Regions from separate parts of the Homo sapiens genome. Here regions 1, 3, 4 and 5 are each linked to region 2. Evidence: promoter capture Hi-C in 16 types of primary human blood cells and fetal thymus (Javierre and others, 2016). All regions are on one chromosome and are shown on one strand. The core of a region is centred on a gene start or on the middle of the fragment in contact, and the rest is flanking DNA. Distances in the headings are between cores, read along the strand shown.

Region 1 (3,910 bases), core at 531-3,030, 390 kb before region 2:
GAAAAATTCAAGGGGGCCCAGCTAGGACAGCTGATCAGTGGGCCTTCAAAATGTCAAGGTCTGAATTTCAGCCACCATTAGGAGAAGTGCTTTAGGTATGACCTGAAATACTTTCTTCCCTTTTAGAGGACTTCCCAGCCAGCATGTTTCATAAACATAATCTGTAATTAAACTCTAGACCTATGGTAACTTGAGGTGTGTGTCTGGCAAGCCCTGGGCAGTTCTTCATTCAGAGTGGGGAAAGGCAGACTGCTCTCACCCGGAGGGCTCATGGTCACCACTTCACATGGAGACCTAGAGCCCCTGGAGTCAGGGTTGGCCTGGCCATCTTCACTGCAGGGATGGTCAGGCACAGGAGATCAAGAGGACCATGGCACCTGTTGGTCCGGAGAGACAGGGGGCAGAGGTCCAGTCCCTAGCAGGCATCGTGAATCTTGCCATTGGCTTTGTGTTTTTTTAATTTGTAAGAATATATTCCCTCCCAAAGCAGATATAGCACAAGCTTAGTAACAAGAGCATCTTACTCTTTTGTGAGATGTGTGAAATTCTAAGAGACAGTTCTTTCTCCATCCATGCTTCACAGATGCAAAACCTGAGGACTAACTATGCTGTCACTGAACAGAAACTGGCAAGCATTTTTCAGGCCTCGACTGGAATTTGGTCCTTCCTTGCTTTGGAGAGCATGAGTTTGTCCCCTAGGGAAGTTAGCTCTGAGCAACATTAAGGTTCTGTTTTCAGTAGACACTCAGCACCACAAAGTCATTCTGAGGGAAAGATACGGGTCTGAGCTGATTTGGGAGAGCACAGTACATGACAAACATCAGCTAGCAGGAAAAGAGAAGCCCTGGGGAGTCGAAATTATGCAGATAGAAAAGGAGAACCAACATTCATTGAGTGCCTTCTATGTGTCAGGCCTGGTGATAAAAACTTTCAAATTTTGTTCCTGAGAAGAATGCAGAAGTGTTCAATAATTTGACTAAAATTACATACTGATACAAAAAGGATCAATAGCCACAATGCCTCTGAATTGCAATTCACAGGGCATGGTGGTGCGTGCCTGTGGTCCTACCTACTCAGGAGGCTCACGTGATCCTCCCGCCTCAACCTCCCGAGTAGCTGGGACTATAGGCGCGCATCACCACGCTGGCTAATTTTACCATTTTTAGTAGAGACGGGGTTTCTCCATGTTGCCAGGGCTGGTCTTGAATTCCTGGGCTCAAGCAATCCGCCTGCCTTGGCCTCCCAAAGTCCTGGGATTAAAGGCGTGAGCCACCATGCATGGCCTATTATTATTTTTTTGAGACAAGTCTCACTCTGTCACCCGAGCTGAAGTGCAGGGGCGTGAACGCAGCTCACTGCAGCCTCGACCTCCTGAGGCTCAGGTGATCTCCCACATTCTTTAGGAAGAATCACATGGAAGAAATTTTCTCCAATTCCATATTTTGAGAGTTCTTATTCCTGGTTTGTGTTATTGCTGCCCGGGATCCTGTATTCAAGGCTACACTGGCATACCCAGAGATGAGTCTCATGTTGCCCCTGAAACGTCAGCAACATTTATCTGTGCAATAAGCACATCCTGAATCATCCTGTGTTGTGTTACTCTCTGGTGTCCACAGCCAAAGAGTGAATTTTACCGCTGGTAAAAATTCACTTGGGCTTTCTTAAAGAGCCTAATAATCTTAGCACAAACGGTCATAAAAAAAATTCTCTCTCAATTCTGTCTAACTTTTCATGCTAATTTAAAACTTTTGTGAATATATTGAGATACTGAAGGCAATGGCTTCCTTAATGCACAGTTTTCTTTGAGAATTATTTAAAATAATATTTGTGAAGGTACTTGGTGGCATGACTTCACACGTTGGGCACTCAGCAAAGCTCACGGGATCTCTTTGAGTTCTCTCTCTTTGTGCATATGAATGTGGGTTAGAAAAACACACTAAAAAATGCACAGGCAAGAAATAATAAATTGTTTCTCTCACAAAGACAAATGGTAAGAAATTACGTTTCTAGTAATTTGTGCCCTTCTCTGGATTGATTACAATATTTATTGTCTCTTACAAAATAATCTTGTCTTTGGTTTTTCTCATCCAGTTTTGAAGTTTTCGTAGTCCTTCATGGGGCTGAGGTGGTAGAAAGCAGCACCGCAAAGTGGGGAGTATGGATTCCTCCATGTCACCAGGGACAGGGGCGGTGGGGAGAGGGTGGAATCCCGAACCAAGAAGGCTTCTGGTGTCCTGAGAGACAAATTTGCAATCCCGTAATACACCAAATTGCCAGGCAAGCAGCACAGCACATTCAAATCCTTGACTAGCTCTGAAATGTCAACAGTGTTTTAGAGATGGCCTGACTCTCCAGACCTGCACTAGACCCACAGCCCGATTTGGGGGAAGTCAGACATATCCTAGTCAGCAGGGAAAGTGGAGGTAGCAGGAGTTACAGAGAATGCTGATGCTCACATAGGAACTTCTCTGATAGAAATCCCCTACTTCTGGTATTTCCACTTTTCTCTCTCTCTTCCCTCTCTCTCTTTCTCCCTTCTCCCTCCTCTCTCTCTCCTCTTTCTCTCTCCCTCTTTCCCCTCTTCCTTCTCTCTCTCTCATCGCTATCTCTTCTACCTAATACATTAATATCCATGGCCTGTGTGTCTAGATGCATAATCCAGCACAATTTTGCAGATCCAGCTTTGGGCCGTGAGTTAAGTCTCTGTGGTATTTTGCTCCAGAGCCAGAGGGAATTCTCTTCATTAGCTGTGCCTGTGTTCACTGACATTTCTCATCATTCGCAGAGTGACCTCTGGCTTCAATGAAGACAGGGAGCAATAAATAAAACCTAAAATTAAATTGTTTACATGAAAGTTTTTAAAAGAAATATAATATAGTCTCATTTTAAGGTTGATTCAGTTTTTAAACAATCCTTTCAATTCCCCAGAACTTCTTATCTCTTTAATACTCCTCAAAGACAAAAATCTATTTTTAAGGAGGAAGGAGTGGGGACATAGCTCCCATCCAGGGGAAAGTATTTGGTGTGGAAACAGTTACCTAGCTTCAGTGAAGCTTTGCAACAAAGCAGACCACACTGGGGCAGGGAAGGAAGAAGAGGAAGGGAACAAATATTCACGGAACATCTATTCTTGACCAGTATAGTCCTATAATTTTTCATGTGTTTTCTCCAATCTTTCAACCCCGTAAAAAAGAATATCCCCATTTTAGTGGTGATAAAACTGAGGCTCAGTGAAATTAGCAACTTGATTGAGTCCTGTCATAATGCAGAGCCTGGTTTTGAATCCCTGGTCCATCTGACTCAATCTATGTTCTATGAGACATGAAAGTCACCTTTCTCTGAATTACCCAGGTAATTTGTTTAATCTAAACTCAGGAGTTCTACCTTTTCTTGTCCTCAGTTCATTTAGAGCTGCATTAATGAAACAGATGATGCTCTATCCTGACATGGGTGTAAATTTTTAAGTGTAATTCACTTTCAAAGTCTTGGAAATTTCACTGAATTTGCAAGCAAAAACATTGATGTGTGCTATGTCATATGCATGCTGTGAGTAACCATCCTAATTTAATTCGACATTTTAATTGAGCCTGAGAAGATTAAGTCCCCATCTCAGCACATCTAATGCTTGCCAGTGCTTTGCTGAGTAGCAAACATGAGGATGTGAGGCCTCCAATGTGAAAGTTAATCTGTATGCGCATCTGTGAAGCAGAAAATACAGAAAACTAGAGTAGCAAGCCTGTGTGAAAAAATGATATGTGCTTTGGGGCCTAATAAATGGGGTCCACATTAACCTGGTTAAACATATAACTGTTCATTCTCCATTTCATTTTTCCTGTGCAAAGGACCAAAGTCAAAAATAAGCAAAACTCAGCTCTGCCCTTTGTAGAATAGGGGATGAGCAGCTGAGGAA
Region 2 (3,904 bases), core at 499-2,998:
ATAACACAACCAAAATTTTCATTTTTGGTTCATTTTAATTTTCTAACTTGAAGGAAAATGTGCAACTTTTACAATGTCCTCGATGTCTTCATTTTAATTTTTCTTCATTTAAATTTTCTAACGAAGGAAAATGTGCAACTTTTACAATGTCCTCGATGTCTTCGTTTTAATTTTTCTTCATTTTAATTTTCTAACTTGAAGGAAAATGTGCAACTTTTACAATGTCCTCGATGTCTTCATTCATTAAATGCCATTAAACATAATTGTGACTTTAATTTTAATTAAATAAAAATGAGTTGGAGTCTCCCTGTGTGGCACAGGCTTGTCTTGAACTTTTGGGCTCCGGTGATCCTCCCACCTTGGCCTCCCAAAGTGTTGGGATTACAGGCATGAGCCATGGTGCCTGGACCACAAAATTGTGACTTGTGTTTCACAATTTGCACAGAGATTTGATGAACTTTTAGGTTCTTTATCTTTTCTAACAATTACATTTTCCCCGTTATGAAAGGTACTGCTTATTCTCTCTTCTCATCTCTCCTTGACACCTAGGTTAAGCTTAGAAGAAAGGCCAAGAGGAAGAGTGGGGTGCTGAGGTTCCCATCTGAGAGGTGGCTTGTTCCCTCCTTCCCCCTCTCCCACTGCACCTTAAACATAGCTCTAACACAGTAGAATGGCAAGTTCTGTGTACTTGTTTATCTATATGGCTTAGTTCTTTTTTAAAAAAATTATTATTGTTATTATTATTATTTTTTTTTGAGACGAATCTCGCTCTGTCGCCCAGGCTGGAGTAGAGTGGCGCGATCTCGGCTCACTGCAAGCTCCGCCTCCCGGGTTTACGCCATTCTCCTGCGTCAGCCTCCCAAGTAGCTGGACTACAGGCGCCCGCCACCGTGTCCGACTAATTTTTTGTATTTTTAGTAGAGACGGGGTTTCACCGTGTTAGCCAGGATGGCCTCGATATCCTGACCTCGTGATCTGCCCGCCTCGGCCTCCCAAAGTGCTGGGATTACAGGCGTGAGCCACGGCGCCCGGCTGGCTTAGTTCTTTTTGTCTGTGGTGAGGCATGCTCTTAGCTGTCTTTATATCACTGGTATCTGGAGTATAAGATGGGCCCAGCCAATGCTGAGTGAATGAATGAAATGCCTTTTGCCTACTTCACAATGTCACCTAGGGCACCCGGTGCCAACTTCACAATATCACCCAAGGCATAACTTTTGACTACTTCACAATGTCACTTTTAACTGACCCCACACAGAAATGGGGACTCCACAGAAACGTAGGAGTGTGTCTAGTGTCAGCCCCGTCTGAATCACTCTCCTGTGGTGGCTCCAGCCAACGAAGAGGAAGCAAAAAGGATAAAAAATCTGAGCTACAGCGCATGGATTTAGGTTAAACAGCCTGGGAATGAGGGGTACGCTAATCGCTGAGGAAAACGCACCTGTGGAGGCCTCTCCAGAAACAGCAGAGGATCCGAGCTGCGTGTAGGCAGGGCGCGCATGTCACCCTGGCCCGGGCGCCTGGTCCGCTGCTGGAGATAAATGGTCGACCCCGGAGGGAGAGGCTAGTAGGGGTGTTGATGTGAACTGATTCGCCCAAGCCTTGGGCCGCAAAACTGCGAAAGAAAGCGGCAGGCAGCCTCTGCATTTCCCAGAAGTGCAGCTGGGGAACTTTCCCAGACCGGCCCAGGGGTTGCTAGAGGGTCAGACGTAAAGGATCCGCCTTTCCTAGGCGGGGTGGGCCCCAGGCCACCACGTGAAGCGTCCTCGCCCCTCAGAGCCCGGAGCAGGCCGGGCTCAAGAAAGAGGAAAGTTGAGGACGCCCCACCTCGGAGAGGCGGCGCCCCTGAGTAGGCCAGGAGCCTCTCTTGCAACTTCTGCCACCGCGGGCCACCGCGGCCGCCTGATCCCGCAGAGGAAGGTCGCGGCCGTGGAGCGATGACCCGCGGCGGTCCGGGCGGGCGCCCGGGGCTGCCACAGCCGCCACCGCTTCTGCTGCTGCTGCTGCTGCTGCCGCTGTTGTTAGTCACCGCGGAGCCGCCGAAACCTGCAGGTGAGCAGAGCGCGCCCTGGGCGGGGGGCGCCCGGGGAGGCTCCTAGGAGCCTGTTAGCGCCCGTGCCCCGCGTCCGGCCGAGTTGACGTCCAGCGGGCGTCTGGTTCCTGGGTGAACTCAGAGAAACGCGCCTCCGGCCGGCGGTCTCGCTCCAGCCCTGCGGCTGCGCAGCGAGGGCACTTGAGAAGGGCATGGCGAGTGCGTCTGCCAACTTTACAAGTTTTGGCCCGAATTCTTGGCCAACAAATCGGTTCGCTCCTGCGCCGATTCTTGGCCCACAGAGCCTGGGCTGGTCTTAAAAACTCCAGCCAATGGGCATCTAAATATATTTATCCAGATTGTAGGGAGGTATGGTTCCGGCTTGCCATTTGTTTTGTGTTTTAAAAATTTACATTGACTTTGGCTTAAAATCACGATTGCACGATTGTCAGTTTGATACGTGCCTGGCAGTGGGCTTAAGGGCCTTTTGGTTTTGTTGTTGTTGTTGAGACAGAGTCGCTCTCTGTGGGCGACGCTGGAGTGCAATGGTGTGATCTCGGCTCACTGCAACTTCCGCCTCCCGGGTTCAAGCGATTCTCCTCCCTCAGCTTCCCAAGTAGCTGGGATTACAGGCGTCAGCCACCATGCCCAGCTAATTTGTGCATTATTAGTAGAGACGAGGTTTCACCATGTTGGACAGGCTGGTCTCGAACGCCTGACTCGGGCGATCCGCCTGCCTCGGCCTCCCAAAGTGCTGGGATTACAGGCATGAGCCACCGCGCCCGGCAGTTTTTTTTTTTTTTTTTTAATATATAATCCTAAATAGGATTATATTCCCCATTCTGCAGATGAGAAAAGTGAGATTGATCAGAAGTAATTCGCATAAAGATAACACAGCAAATAAGACAGAGTTAGGGGATGCCAGAGGGCATTTTCTTAACTACTTCCCTCTTGGAAAAACAGGTTTTATCTCTACAGGTATTCATGCAAATCTACATCCTTTGCCAAAATTAAATTAAATTAAATTAAAAAGCCTTGGATTTATGATTTCCGTTCCTAAGGAGGTGAAGATTATGAACTGTAACTAAGGGACTTGAAAGAATTCTAAAGTAATAATAAGAGAATTAATTTTGTCTTATTTCATAATCCCCTTTTCTGTGCTGACCTTGTACAAGAGTAGGGTGGGGCTTGGGGGAGGATGCCCCTTCCTAAATATGTGTACTGATTCTTATTACACTACCTTCCATCATCAAGAGCCTTCGTTTTTGAGACTTGCTTAGTTATCACTCTTCAATCTTAAATCTTTCCAGTCTGTGGGATCAGATGTACCCACAGGCTCCTGACTCGTGATTTTCTGTGTTCTTTGCCTAAACTATGGAGGTGGCCTTGGTGTCTACTTCTAGTCTAGGGAGACAGCTCATTCAGAGGTACCTGGGGGAGGCTGGGGAGGGTCCCAAAAGTGGAGGTAGCTTTTGTGTTTGGAATGCTGGCTAAAATCTTTATTCCTTTTCTGTTTTTTTGGACGAGTGAGATTAAGTGTTTTTGTAGGTGGAGGGGGCAGCCTGAGGAGTGAGACAGGCGTTGTTTTTCTGAAGATGGAGCACTATTTATTCAAGAAGGTACCACCTTGTAAGAAACTGCATCTTAAACAGTTCCTCCAACAGGAAGCTGACTCCATGCTTGGAGGTTCTGGAGCCAAGGCAGAAAGTAAGGACATTTCTGAGATGAAGTGATCCTGACAGCACCATGCCCAGCAATCTGGAAAGGATTCTTACTTACCTAGGTGTTAAGGACATCTGGTGATGCCACACTATTTCAGCAGATGAGATCTCTGTTTCCTTTGTCCTACCCACATTAATCTGTTTTCCCTTGAGG
Region 3 (3,894 bases), core at 1,123-3,622, 310 kb after region 2:
ATATGCTACACGGGATTTTCCAAAATGTTCAGTATCAAAGGGGATTCAAGAAGGGTAGAGGTCAAGCCATCCAAACTGGCCCTCTGATTCTTAGAGATGCTTTTATTTTAGGATCTTTGCATTTTTCACTCCACCTTGAAATCTCCACCCTCCCCCCCCACCCCTTATTCCTCTCTCCTTTCACTGTCCTCTGAGTTCCTCCTACCCTCTGGTCAAGCTTTGCCTTCCTCAGAGGCCTTCCTGAATGCTTGGTCCAAAGTAAATTCCTTATACCTTCTTATCATCTTACATGGCAACCTCTTTTTTTCTGTTGTAGCACCACTGTAACTTACAATTATATATATTTGTTTTCTTGTACATTGGCTCTCCCCCTTCACCCGCAACTAGCTTTCTAAGTACCCTTGGGCCGTGTCTGTCTGATCAAAACTGTATAACAAGCATAGGACCTGGCAAAATGTTAGCAAGGAGCAAATATTTGTTGAACAGATTAATTAAATTCAAATATTATTTCTCTGGTCCCAGTCCACTACTTTCTGGCTTCTTCTTTTATACCAGTTAGTTCTTTTACGATTCAGTCTGTTTTCTTACTCTTGTGAACTTTCAGGAACAACTGATTTATTTCAGGGTTCCTCTTTACATAATGAGAGCTACTGAGTAGAATAGAATCTTCACAGCTTCTGGGGGGTACCAGAAAGATGCCCAGAAAGGGGGTACCATGGCCATTACTGGCACCTCAGACAAGGGCAGGCTTCAAACAGGGAGGCCTGTGGCAACCCCTCCCCTATGTCTGAAGCTGAGGGGATGGGGGAGCTAAGAACAAAGGAAAGAAGAGAAAAGTGTCCAGGGAACAGGTGGGGACCATGGTCTTCTTGCCCCATCTTCCTCAGGGGTTGGGGGGTACAGAGTTGGTGGTGGCCCATCCTGCTAGGTCCCACTGCCCCTCAGAAGAGGCCCCAGTCCTTCAGGTTGTTCTTGATGATGACGTCGGTGATGGCATCAAACACGAACTACGTTCTTGGTATCGGTGGCGCATGTGAAGTGTGTGTAGATCTCCTTGGTGTCTTTGTGCTTATTCAGGTCCTCAGACTTACTCTGGTTGTAGCTGGCTGCCTCATCATACTTGTTGGACCCTGTGTACTCAGGGAAGCAGATGGTCAGGGGCTGTGTGTGATCTTCTCCTCCAACAGCTCCTTCTTGTTGAGGAAGTAGATGATGGACGTGTTTGTGAACCACTTGTTGCAGATGCTGTCAAACAGCTTTTATCCCCTAAGAAAAGACACACTAGTCTTATAATTCTTACCGTCTGTGTTTTCTCATCTGTAGTACTTGATTTTACTCTGAGATGGAATTCAACTTGGGTTTTGGTTTCTGAGTCTGGAGTCATGCACATGGTTTTCCCCCTTCCATCTTTATCAAAACTGTCCCTATCACCAGAGGGAAAGGATTTACCAATTCCTCCTTTAAAAGAGTATCCTGGCGGCCAGGCCTGGTGGATCATGCCTGTAATTCCAGCACTTTGGGAGGCCGAGGTGGGTGGATCACCCGAAGGTCAGGAGTTCGAGACCAGCCTGGCCAACATGGAGAAACCCTCATCTCTACTAAAAATACAAAAATTAGCCAGGGGTGGTGACGGGCGCCTGTAATCTCAGCTACTCGGGAGGCTGAGACAGGAGAATTGCTTGAACCCGGGAGGTAGAGGTTGCAGTGAGCTGAGATCATGCCATTGCACTCCAGCCTGGGCAACAAGATTGAAACTTCGTGTCACACACACACACACACACACACACACAACGGGCATGGTGGCTCACGCCTGTAATCCCAGCACTTTGAGAGGCCAAGGTGGGCCGATCATGAGGTCAGGAGATTGAGACCATCCTGGCTAACACAGTGAAACCTCACCTCTACTAAAAATACAAAAACTTAGCTGGGTGTGGTGGCATGCACCTGTAGTCCCAGCTACTAGGAGGCTGACGCAGGAGAATTGCTTGAACCCAAGAGGTGGAGGTTGCGGTGAGCCGAGATCGCGCCACTGCACTCCACACTCCAGCCTGGGTGACAGAGCGAGACTCTGTCCCAAAAAAAAAAAAAAAAAAAAAATGGATCCTAGCTGGGCGAGGTGGCTCACGCCTGTAATCCCAGCACTTTGGGAGGCTGAGGTGGGTGGATCGCTTGAGGTCAGGAGTTTGAGACCAGCCTGGCCAACATGGCAAAACCCCGTCTCTACTAAAAATATAAAAATTAGCTGGGCATGGTGGTGGGTGCCTGTAATCTGAGCTACTAGGGAGGGGATACAGGAGAATCGCTTGAACCCGGCAGGCAGAGGTTGCACTAAGCTGGGATCGTGCCACTGCAGTCCAGCCTGGGTGACAGAGCAAGACTCAGTCTCAAAAAAAAAAAAAAAGATTCTACTCCTGGCCAGGGACTCATCCAAGCAGAAGTCTAATGCCACAGAATTTCAAGTAGGCAATTTGCATCTCTGAAAACCTTCAGATGAGAGAGAGAGAGAGGGGCCACCAATTCACTGGATTTCAGCCCAACACAAGAGTAATGTCTTTGGGGCTTTTTTTTTTTTTGAGACAGGGTCTCACTCTGTCACTGATGCTAGCTAGAGTGCAGTGGCCTGATCCTGGCTCCCTGCAGCCTTGACTTCTGGGCTCAAGTGATCCTCTCACCTCAGCCTCCAGAGTAGCTGGGACTATAGGCATGCACCATCACACTTGGTTATTTTTTTCTATTTTTCTTTTTTTTTTTGAGACAGAGTCTCACTTTGTTGCCCAGGCTGGAGTGCAGTGGTGCAATCTCTGGTCACTGTAACCTCCACCTCCCTGGTTCAAGCGATTCTCCTGCCTCAGACTCCCTAGTAGCTGGGATTACAGGTGCCTACCACCAAGCCTGGCTAATTTTTGTATGTTTAGTAGAGATGGGCTTTCGCCATGTTGACCAGGCTGGTCTTGAACTCCTGACCTCAAATGATCCACCCGCCTGGGCCTCCCAAAGTGCTGGGATTACAGGCATGAGCCACCATGCCTGGCCTATTTATTTTTTTATTTTTTCACAGAGACAGGGTCTCTCTGTGTTGCTCTGGCTGCCCTCAAACTCCTGGCTTCAAGTGACTCCTACCTCTGCCTCCCAGTGAGGTGGGATCACAGGCATGAGCCACTGTGCCCTGCCTGGAGCATTTCTTCACCTAAGCAAATTAGCTGTTCTAAAAGCTGTGCTAGGTGTTGGAGGACATTTGAAGCACAGCTTTATTGTGTATTTATTGCAAGGTTTTGATTGACTCGTTGTGAAACTGGTAGGATTTCCCTAACTGACTACAAAATTCTGTGACTTTCACTTCTTTTTTTTTTTTTTTTTTTTTTTGGGATGGAGTTTCGCTCCTGTTGCCCAGGCTGGAGTGCAATGGCACGATCTCAGCTCACCACAACCTCCGCCTCTGGCGTTCAAGAGATTCTCCTGCCTCAGCCTCCCGAGTAGCTGGGATTACAGGCATGCGTCACCACACCCGGCTAATTTGTGTTTTTAGTAGAGACAGTTTCTCCATGTTGGCCAGGCTAGTCTCGAACTCCTAACCTCAGGTGATCTGCCCACCTCAGCCTCCCAAAGTGCTGGGATTACAGGCGTGAGCCACCACGCCCGGCTGACTTTCACTTCTTTTAACTGGTTCAGGGTAATCAATAGTTGAGAGACCGAATATTGAGGTCAGAAAAACTCAAAGCTCTGAAGCCGTGGTTTCCTCATCTATTTTGTTTTTTCATCTATAAAAATATCTCTATAAAGTTGTAATAATCATTATAAGAGCAATTACATAGCAATACTTTGTGCCAGTTTACTGTTATGATATATATGTATATATAGTATGTATAAACCACATTGTATATATAAACTGTTTTC
Region 4 (4,068 bases), core at 824-3,323, 300 kb after region 2:
GGATCACCTGAGGTCAGGAGTTTGAGACCAGCCTGGCCAACATGGTGAAACCCCGTCTCTACTAAAAATACAAAATTAGCCAGGAGTGATGGTGCATGCCTGTAATCCCAGCTACTCTGGAGGCTGAGGCAAGAGTATCGCTTAGAACCTGGGAGGCAGAGGTTGCCCTGAGCCGAGATTCGCCAGTAGCACTGGGCAACAAAGGGAGACTCTGTCTCAAAAAAAAAAAAAAAAAAGAAAGAAAAAAAGAAAAGAAAAGAAAATGAAGTCAGACCTAGGGAACATTTTCGGGATTTACTAAACATCTACCCACAGGGAAGGAAGAAAGAATGTCAGCGATATGGACAGTTGCTATCATACATTTTTGGATTCTCTTAGATCTCAGTACTTTATAGGGAATCAGAGTCCTCATTTTTTTGGCCAGTGTGGAAGATCCTGTCAGTACCATGCTCATATCCCTGCAATACTTACTGTTTCTATATGTGCAGACGGTATCCTACTGCTAGTACATGATGCTGCCCGAGGGCTTTTCCTCAGTTCAGGTGTAGAGAAAGTCCTCAGCGCTGTAGAGTTAACACTCCTGGAAGCAACTATAAACTAATGACTGATAGTAATTAGAGGACAAACTCCAGCTTCCTCTTCCCCTCAGGTGGGACAGCTCCCACAGGTTCCCAGCATGACTGACCCTCGGTTGCCCCCATTGGTAACGTAATGGTCTAGGCTTCCCTCACTTCCCTGTCTTACTGCCCCTTTCCCCTGTCAGTGCTTCCTATGATCACCACTCAAACTACTTACATTTAAACCTTTTGCTTAGGGTTGGCTCCTAAAAGAATCTGGCAGAAGACAGCCTAATTATGGGGAAAGCACTCCTGCCCAAAATAATCGGCTAAATTTCTCCATTTTTTCAAGTTTCAAATTCTATCCATTAGGGGTGCATATGGGGGGCCAGGCATGGTGGCTCAAACCTATAATCCCAGTACTTTGGGAGGTTGAGGCAGGTGGATTTCTTGAGCCCAGGAGTTCGAGACCAGTCTAGGTGACATAGTGAGACCTCATCTCTGCAAAAAATACAAAAACTTGCCAGGTGTGGTGGTGCATTCCTGTAGTACCAGCTACTAAGCGGCTGAGGTGGGAAGATCGCTTGAGCCTAGGAGGTCAAGGCTGCAGTGAGCTGTGTTCATGCCACCGCACTCTGGCCTAGGTGACAAAGTGAGACCCTGTTTAAAAAAAAAAAGGGATGCATACGTGGTGTCAGGTGTCAATTTGGGAAATTCAGATACTCCTTGCAGGGTTATGAAGCAACCATCATTTTTTCCACCATATCTTAGGGAAAATGGTTGGTGACATTGCTTTCTTCTTATTACTATTTAATCTCACCCAAAATAATTGGCTAAAATTATTGGCTAAAATAATTGTCTGCTCAAAAGAATCATTAGCCATCATAAAGTAAGTAAATTCTCACTGCCTCATTCTGGGGCAGGCTCATGTCTGAAGGAGTGTGATCTCAAGTGTACATCTGCAATTTGGAATCGAAAGACTGCAATTTGAAGTTGAAATACAAATGGGCAGTGGCTGAACCATAGATAACAACAGAACTCTGACCCATGAAGGGGATCAGAACATGTTGCCCCCAAATACGCTGCTTTAGCATATTGATTATTTTGAACTGAAGGCAATTGAAAAACAGCAAATGGCCTCTTGACCTTCACTTTTCTTTTTTTTTCTTTTTCTTTTTTTTTTTTTTCGAGATGGAGTCTCACTCTGTCTCCCAGGGTGGAGTACAGTGGTGCCATCTCTGCAAGCTCCGCCTCCCAGGTTCACGCCATTCTCCTGCCTCAGCCTCCTGAGTAGCTGGGACTACAGGCACCGGCCACCATGCCTGGCTAATTTTTTGTATTTTTAGTAGAGACACAGTTTCACTGTGTTAGCCAGGATGGCCTCGATCTCCTGACCTCGTGATCTGCCTGCCTTGGCCTCCCAAACTGCTGGGATTACAGGTGTGAGCCACCACACCTGGCCTGACATACATTTCCCATGAGAAAGGTGCTCTCCCATAACCAGAAAGAAAACATTCTTATCAATGGAAATGGAGAATTGACACTGATTGTTTGTCTGCACAAACAAACCTTATTAATATAGCCCTTATCTTCCATTAGTTTTCCTCATATACTTCCTAGGTACTTTCCAAAAACTTACCACCTGTAGAAGCCCAAACCCCTGTCCTTTATCTACCTATGTCTTCACAATTTATTGCCTTTTGTTAAAATGGTATATAAACCTCTCTATCCACATGTTTTGAGGTTTTCACATCTTCTCTGTGAAGCCCTCCATGCCATATAAAAACATTAACACCAAATGAAATTGTATATGTTTTTCCTGTTGTAATATTTGTCAGTTTAATTTGCAGGCCCCAGGTACCTAATAACATAAGAGGGTAAAGTTCTTCCTTCCTTCATTGACAACATGCAGCAACCTATCCAGGAAACTAATCACTTATTTTCAATAGCCAACCAGTGAGACAGTCTGCTGTAAGTCAGATTTGTTGGGAGTCACAGATCTTTAGTGACAGTCTAAGAGGCCAAACAATAACAGTTGTTTCCTGTGACAACAAGCCAATATGGCCAGGACTTGATTAATAACTGACCGCTTTTCTAATTTTTGTCCCTGCTTCCAAATTAGGACCAATCAGAGGAAACCGGATGGGTGCAGTGGCTCATGCCTGTAATCCCAGCACTTTGGGAGGCTGAGGCAGGTGGATCACCTGAGGTCAGGAGTTTGAGACCAGCCTGGCCAATATGGTGAAACCCAGTCTCTACTAAAAAAAAATACAAAAATTAGCTGGGCATGGTGGCGCACGCCTGTAGTCCCAGCTACTCAGGAGGCTGAAGCAGGAGAATCGCCTGAACCCAGGAAGCAGAGGTTGCAGTGAGCCAAGATTGCGCCACTGTACTCCAGCCTGAGGACAGAGTGAGACTCTGTCTCAAAAAAAAAAAAAAAAAAAAAAAAATCAGAGAAAGCCAAATGTGTACCCCTAACCAATCACATAGGAATTCCTGTTTCTAGTTTGCCTGCTTACAGCTTCCTCATGCCAACAGCCTCTAACTGGGGCATAGTTGAAGCCTTTCCTTTTTCCTACAATAAAACTTTCCTACTCCTCTGCCTGCCTTGGAGTGTCTGCCAAAATACAAGTGACAGTGGTTGACTCCCTAGCTATAGCAATCTCTGAATAAATAGAATTTGCTTGTTCTCATTTGGTTTGTCTTAGTTTTTTTCCACATTCTGTCCACCCTTGTAACTTTCTATTTGGGGGACTTGTATTTGATATTATGCCTTATTCTCTCCATCCACTTTGTCCTAAAGTGGATGACATACTATTTTAGAGTTCCAATTGTAAAAATGCCTTTTATCCCTGGATAAGATTGCATTTTGATCCTTTTAATCTCAATGAGCCAGAAGTTTTAGGGCACCAAGAGAAAAAGTCTGGAGGGTTTCATATGTCCTTTTCCCCACTATCAAATGCAATCACAAAACAGTATTTCAATATTATCAGTACTGCTTTTGTTCCTATCCCTTATCTGAAGTCGAGAATCTTCAATTGTTTAAAGTTTCCTAGTTAAAGTTTCCTAGTACCTTCATATAGCACTGCTTGCTAGGTGTTTGAGGACAGGAGACTCTTGACTGCCTACAGGTTTACCATTGAGTCTCTACAGAGACTCTTCTTGGGAAGGCGAGTGAGTGTCTTGGCCTTTTTAGGGTCCATGTGACAGAGTGTAACTTTCTTACGACTTATCAGACTGGTTATTTGTTTGTTCTTGCGGACCTTGAATATCTGAGATAGGTCTCAGTCAATTTAGCAAGTTTATTTTGCCAAAGTTAAGGATGTGCACCTGTGACACAGCCTCAGGAAGTCCTGATGACATGTGCCCAAGGTGGGAAGAATACAGCTTGTTTTTCTTTTTCTTTTTTTCTTTTTTGAGACAGAGTTTCACTCTTTCGCCCAGGCTGGAGTGCAGTGGCTGATCTAGGCTCACTGCAATCTCCACCTTCTGGTTTCAAGCGATTCTCCTG
Region 5 (3,960 bases), core at 36-2,535, 340 kb after region 2:
AAATGTGTCTCCTTTGTCTCTACTAGAAAGGAAAAGAACTGGAATTGGAAGGATAGGGAGACTGAAGGGTAGCAAGAGAGGCTGGAGAAGAGAGTGAAGAGACCGCTTCCTGATTTGAAATTGGTGAGATGTTCCTTGGGCTGATCTGATGACACCTCCAAAGGAACACAATGATTCTCTAGTAACAGACTTGAAGAAAAGGAAATCAATGAAATGCCTGAAAAGAAATTCAAAATAATGATCTTAAGGTAACTCAGTGAGATACAAAAGAATACAGATAGACAATTTAACAAAATTAGGAGAGAAATTCACGATCTGAATGAGAAATTCAACAAATAAATAGATATCAAAAAAAGAAACCAAACAGAAAATTTGGAGCTGAAGAATTTAACAAATAAAAAATATGGTTGAGAGCTTCAACAATAGAGTAGATCAAGCAGAAGAAAGAATTTCTGAAACTCTTTTGAAAGAATTCAAAAAGACTTTTGAAATAACCCAGTCAGACCACCAAAAATAAAAAGTTAAAAAGAAAAATCTGGGCACATGGGCTCATGCCTGTAATTTTAGTTACTTGAGAGGCTGATGTGGGAGAATTGCTTGAGCCTAGGAATTTGAGACCAGCATGGGCAGCAAAGTCAGACCCCATCTCTGGGGGAAAAAGATTAGCCAGGTGTGGTTGCATGCATCTGCAGTCCCAGCTACTTGCGAGGCTAAGGTGGAAGGATCATTGTGCCCAGGAGTTTGAGGCTGCAGTAAACTATAATCATACACTGCACTCCAGCCTGGGTAGCAGAGACTCTGTCTTTAAAACAAAGAAAAGAATGAAGAAAGCAGCCTAAGGGACTTGTGAGGCATGATTAAGTGAACATATATTTACACTATGGATGTTTAAGGAGAAATGGGAAAAGATATAGAAAAACCCATTTAATGAAATAACAGCTGAAAACTCCCCAAATCTTAGGAGAGATATAGATGTTAAATCCAGGAAGCTCAAAGTTTCCCAAATAGATTCAACCCAAAAAGGTCCCCTTCAAGTCACATTATAGTAAAACTGTCAAAAAGACAAATAATTCTAAAAACAGCAAGACAAAAGTGTTATTGCACACAAGGAAATCCCCATTAGAGAAACAGCAGATTCCTTGGCAGAAAGCTTACAAGCCAGGAGAGAATAGGATGACATATTCAAAGTGGTGAAAGAACAAAACTGCCAGCAAAGAATACTATACCCACCAAAGTTATCCTTCAGAATGAAGGAGAAATAAAGACTTTCCCAGGTGTATTTGGCCGTTCTTGCATTGCTACAAAGAAGTACCTGAGATTGGGTAATTTATAAAAGGAGAGGTTTTATGGGCTAATGGTTCTACAGGCTGTACAGGAAGCATAGTGGCATCTTGCTTCTGGGGAGGCCTCAGGAAGCTTCCAATCATGGCAGAAAGCAAAGAAGGAGCAGGCACATTACAAGGAGAAAGCAGGAGCAAGAGAAGGTGGGGAAGTGCCATATACTTTTAAGGGGCCAGATCTCATGAGAACTTACTGCTGGCTGGGTGTGGTGGCTCATGCCTGTAATCCCAGCACTTTGGGAAGCTGAGGTGGGTGGATCACAAGGTCAGGAGATCGAGACCATCCTGGCTAACACGGTGAAACCCCATCTCTACTAAAAAAATACAAAAAAAAAAATTAGCTGGGTGTGGTGGCAGGCCCCTGTAGTCCCAGCTACTTGGGAGGCTGAGGCAGGAGAATGGCGTGAACCCAGGAGGCGGAGCTTGCAGTGAGCCAAGATCACGCCACTGCACTCCAGCCTGGGCGACTGAGCAAGACATCGTCTCAAAAAAAAAAAAAAAAAAAAAGAGAACTCACTACTGAGGACAACACCAAGGGGATAGTGATAAACTATTCATGATAAATTTGCCTTTATGATCCAGTCACCTTTCACCAGGCCCCACCTCTAACATGGGATTACAAGTCAACATGAGATTTGGGCAGGGACACACATTTAAACTACATCACCAGACAAGCAAAAGCTGAAGGAATTGATTATCACTAGACTAGCCTTATAAGAAATGCTTAAGAAAGTCCTACGTTTGGAGGAAAAGGATGATTACTGCCATCATGAAATCACGTGAAAGTATAAAACTCACAGGTAGAACAGTTATCCAAATGAGAAAGAGAAAGGAATCAAACCTCATCACTACAGAAAACCACCAAATCACAAAGATAAACAATAAGAGAGGAAGAAAGGAAGAAAAGAAATCTAAAACAACCAGAAAACAATTAACAAAATGTCAGGAGTTTTTTTCTTACTTATCAATAATCTTGAACGAAAAACAAAATCTTGAATGTAAACATTAAATCCCCAATTAGAAAGATATAGGCTGGCTGAATAGATAAAAAAATATCAAGACTCAACTATATACTGCTTACAAGAAACTCACTTCACCTACAAAGACACACATAGACTGAAAGTGAAGGGATGAAAAAAGATATTCCATGCAAGCAGAAACCAAAAATAAACAAGAGCAGCTATGCTTGTATCAGACTTAAACAGACTTCAAGTCAAAAGCTATAAAAAGATACAGAGAAGGTAATTATATAATAATAAAGGGATCAATTCAGTGAGAGGATATAACAATTCTAAATAAATATGTACTCAACACTGGAGCACTCAGATATATAAAGCAAATATCATTAGATTTAGGGGGAGAGATAGATATCAATACAATAATAGTTGAGGACTTAAATGCCCCACTGTCAGCATTGGGCAGATTATCTAGACAGATAATCAACAAAGAAACACCGGATTTAAACTGCACCATAGACCAAATGGACCTAACAGACATTTACAGAATATTTTATTTAATAGTTGCAGAATAACTCATTTTTCTCATCAGCACATGGAACATGCCATATGTTAGGCTACGAAGCAAATCTCAACAAATTTTTAAAAATTGAAATCATATCAAGTATCCATGTTGCCCACAATGGAATAAAATTAAAAATCCATCACTAGAGTAACTTTAGGAAGTGTACAAATACATGGAAATGAAATAACATGCTTCTGAATAACCAATGGGACAATAAAGAAATTAAGAAGAAAATTAAAAATTTTTTGAATCAAATGAAAATAGAAACACAAAATACCAAAACCTATGGGAGATATAAAAAACAGAGCACGGTGGCTCATGCCTGTAATCCCAGCACTTTGGGAGGCCAAGGCGGGTGGATCACGAGGTCAGGAGATAGAGACCATCCTGGCTAACACAATGAAACCCTGTCTCTACTAAAAATGCAAAAAATTAGCCAGGTGTGGTGGCGGGCGCCTGTAGTCCCAGCTACTTGGGAGGCTGAGGCAGGAGAATGGCGTGAACTGGGAGGCAGAGCTTGCAGTGAGCAGAGATCGCGCCACTGCACTCCAGCCTGGGCGACAGAGCAAGACTCCGTCTCACAAACAAACAAAACAAAACAAAAACAAAAACAAACAGGAATAAGTCGGAAGTTGATGGCAATAAACAGCTATGTCAAAAAACTAGAAATTTTTTAAATAAACAATCTAATTATGTAGCTTGGGAGACTAGAAAAGCAAGAAGAAGCCTAAGTCAAAATTAGTAGAAGGAAAGAAATTATAAAAATTAGAGCAGAAATAAACATAGTTGGGACTAGAAAAATGCAAAGGATCGATAAATCAAAAAGTTGGTTTTATGAAAAGATAAAAAAATTAGACAAACTTTTAATTAGACTGAGAAAAAATGAGAGAAGACCCTAATAAATAAAATCACAAATAAAAAAGGAGACATTACGACTGATATCACAGAAATACAAAGGATCATTAGAGACTATTGTGAACAACTATACATCAACAAATTGGAAAACCTAGAGGAAGTGAATAAATTCCTGGACACATACAACCTACCAAGGTTGAACCGTAAAGAAATAGAAAACCTGAATAAACCAACGATGAGCAAA

Evidence for each region. The method cuts DNA at HindIII sites, captures the fragments that hold promoters and counts their contacts. A CHiCAGO score of 5 or more calls a contact.
Region 1: a contact is called between a fragment that was not itself captured here and the fragment with the promoter of PLBD1 in region 2, in 1 of 17 cell types (neutrophils). The highest score is 10.7, in neutrophils.
Region 3: a contact is called between a fragment that was not itself captured here and the fragment with the promoter of PLBD1 in region 2, in 2 of 17 cell types (monocytes and neutrophils). The highest score is 8.5, in monocytes.
Region 4: a contact is called between a fragment that was not itself captured here and the fragment with the promoter of PLBD1 in region 2, in 1 of 17 cell types (neutrophils). The highest score is 6.1, in neutrophils.
Region 5: a contact is called between a fragment that was not itself captured here and the fragment with the promoter of PLBD1 in region 2, in 1 of 17 cell types (M1 macrophages). The highest score is 5.9, in M1 macrophages.

Annotation. Positions count from the first base shown.
Region 1 is chr12:14,956,511-14,960,420 of GRCh38, reverse strand. The region is part of intron 1 of ARHGDIB (Rho GDP dissociation inhibitor beta); the gene reads left to right. Among named protein-coding and RNA genes, the nearest start is that of ARHGDIB, 3.1 kb to the left of the region's middle. RefSeq lists an enhancer at 368-477. The HindIII fragment of the contact is 2,551 bases long and covers 505-3,055 here.
Region 2 is chr12:14,565,727-14,569,630 of GRCh38, reverse strand. PLBD1 (phospholipase B domain containing 1) reads left to right here and starts at 1,748. Exons shown (of 11, transcript NM_024829.6): 1 at 1,748-2,049. The coding sequence starts at 1,935. PLBD1-AS1 (PLBD1 antisense RNA 1) reads right to left here and starts at 1,899. Exons shown (of 6, transcript NR_120465.1): 1 at 1,825-1,899; 2 at 1,439-1,612. RefSeq lists silencers at 1,878-1,987, 2,727-2,903 and an enhancer at 1,801-2,482. The HindIII fragment of the contact is 11,340 bases long and covers 558-3,904 here.
Region 3 is chr12:14,252,279-14,256,172 of GRCh38, reverse strand. It overlaps the pseudogene GNAI2P1. Among named protein-coding and RNA genes, the nearest start is that of ATF7IP, 110 kb to the left of the region's middle. The HindIII fragment of the contact is 4,306 bases long and covers 220-3,894 here.
Region 4 is chr12:14,268,779-14,272,846 of GRCh38, reverse strand. No RefSeq gene overlaps it. Among named protein-coding and RNA genes, the nearest start is that of ATF7IP, 95 kb to the left of the region's middle. The HindIII fragment of the contact is 5,994 bases long and covers 1-4,068 here.
Region 5 is chr12:14,227,592-14,231,551 of GRCh38, reverse strand. No RefSeq gene overlaps it. Among named protein-coding and RNA genes, the nearest start is that of ATF7IP, 140 kb to the left of the region's middle. The HindIII fragment of the contact is 266 bases long and covers 1,153-1,418 here.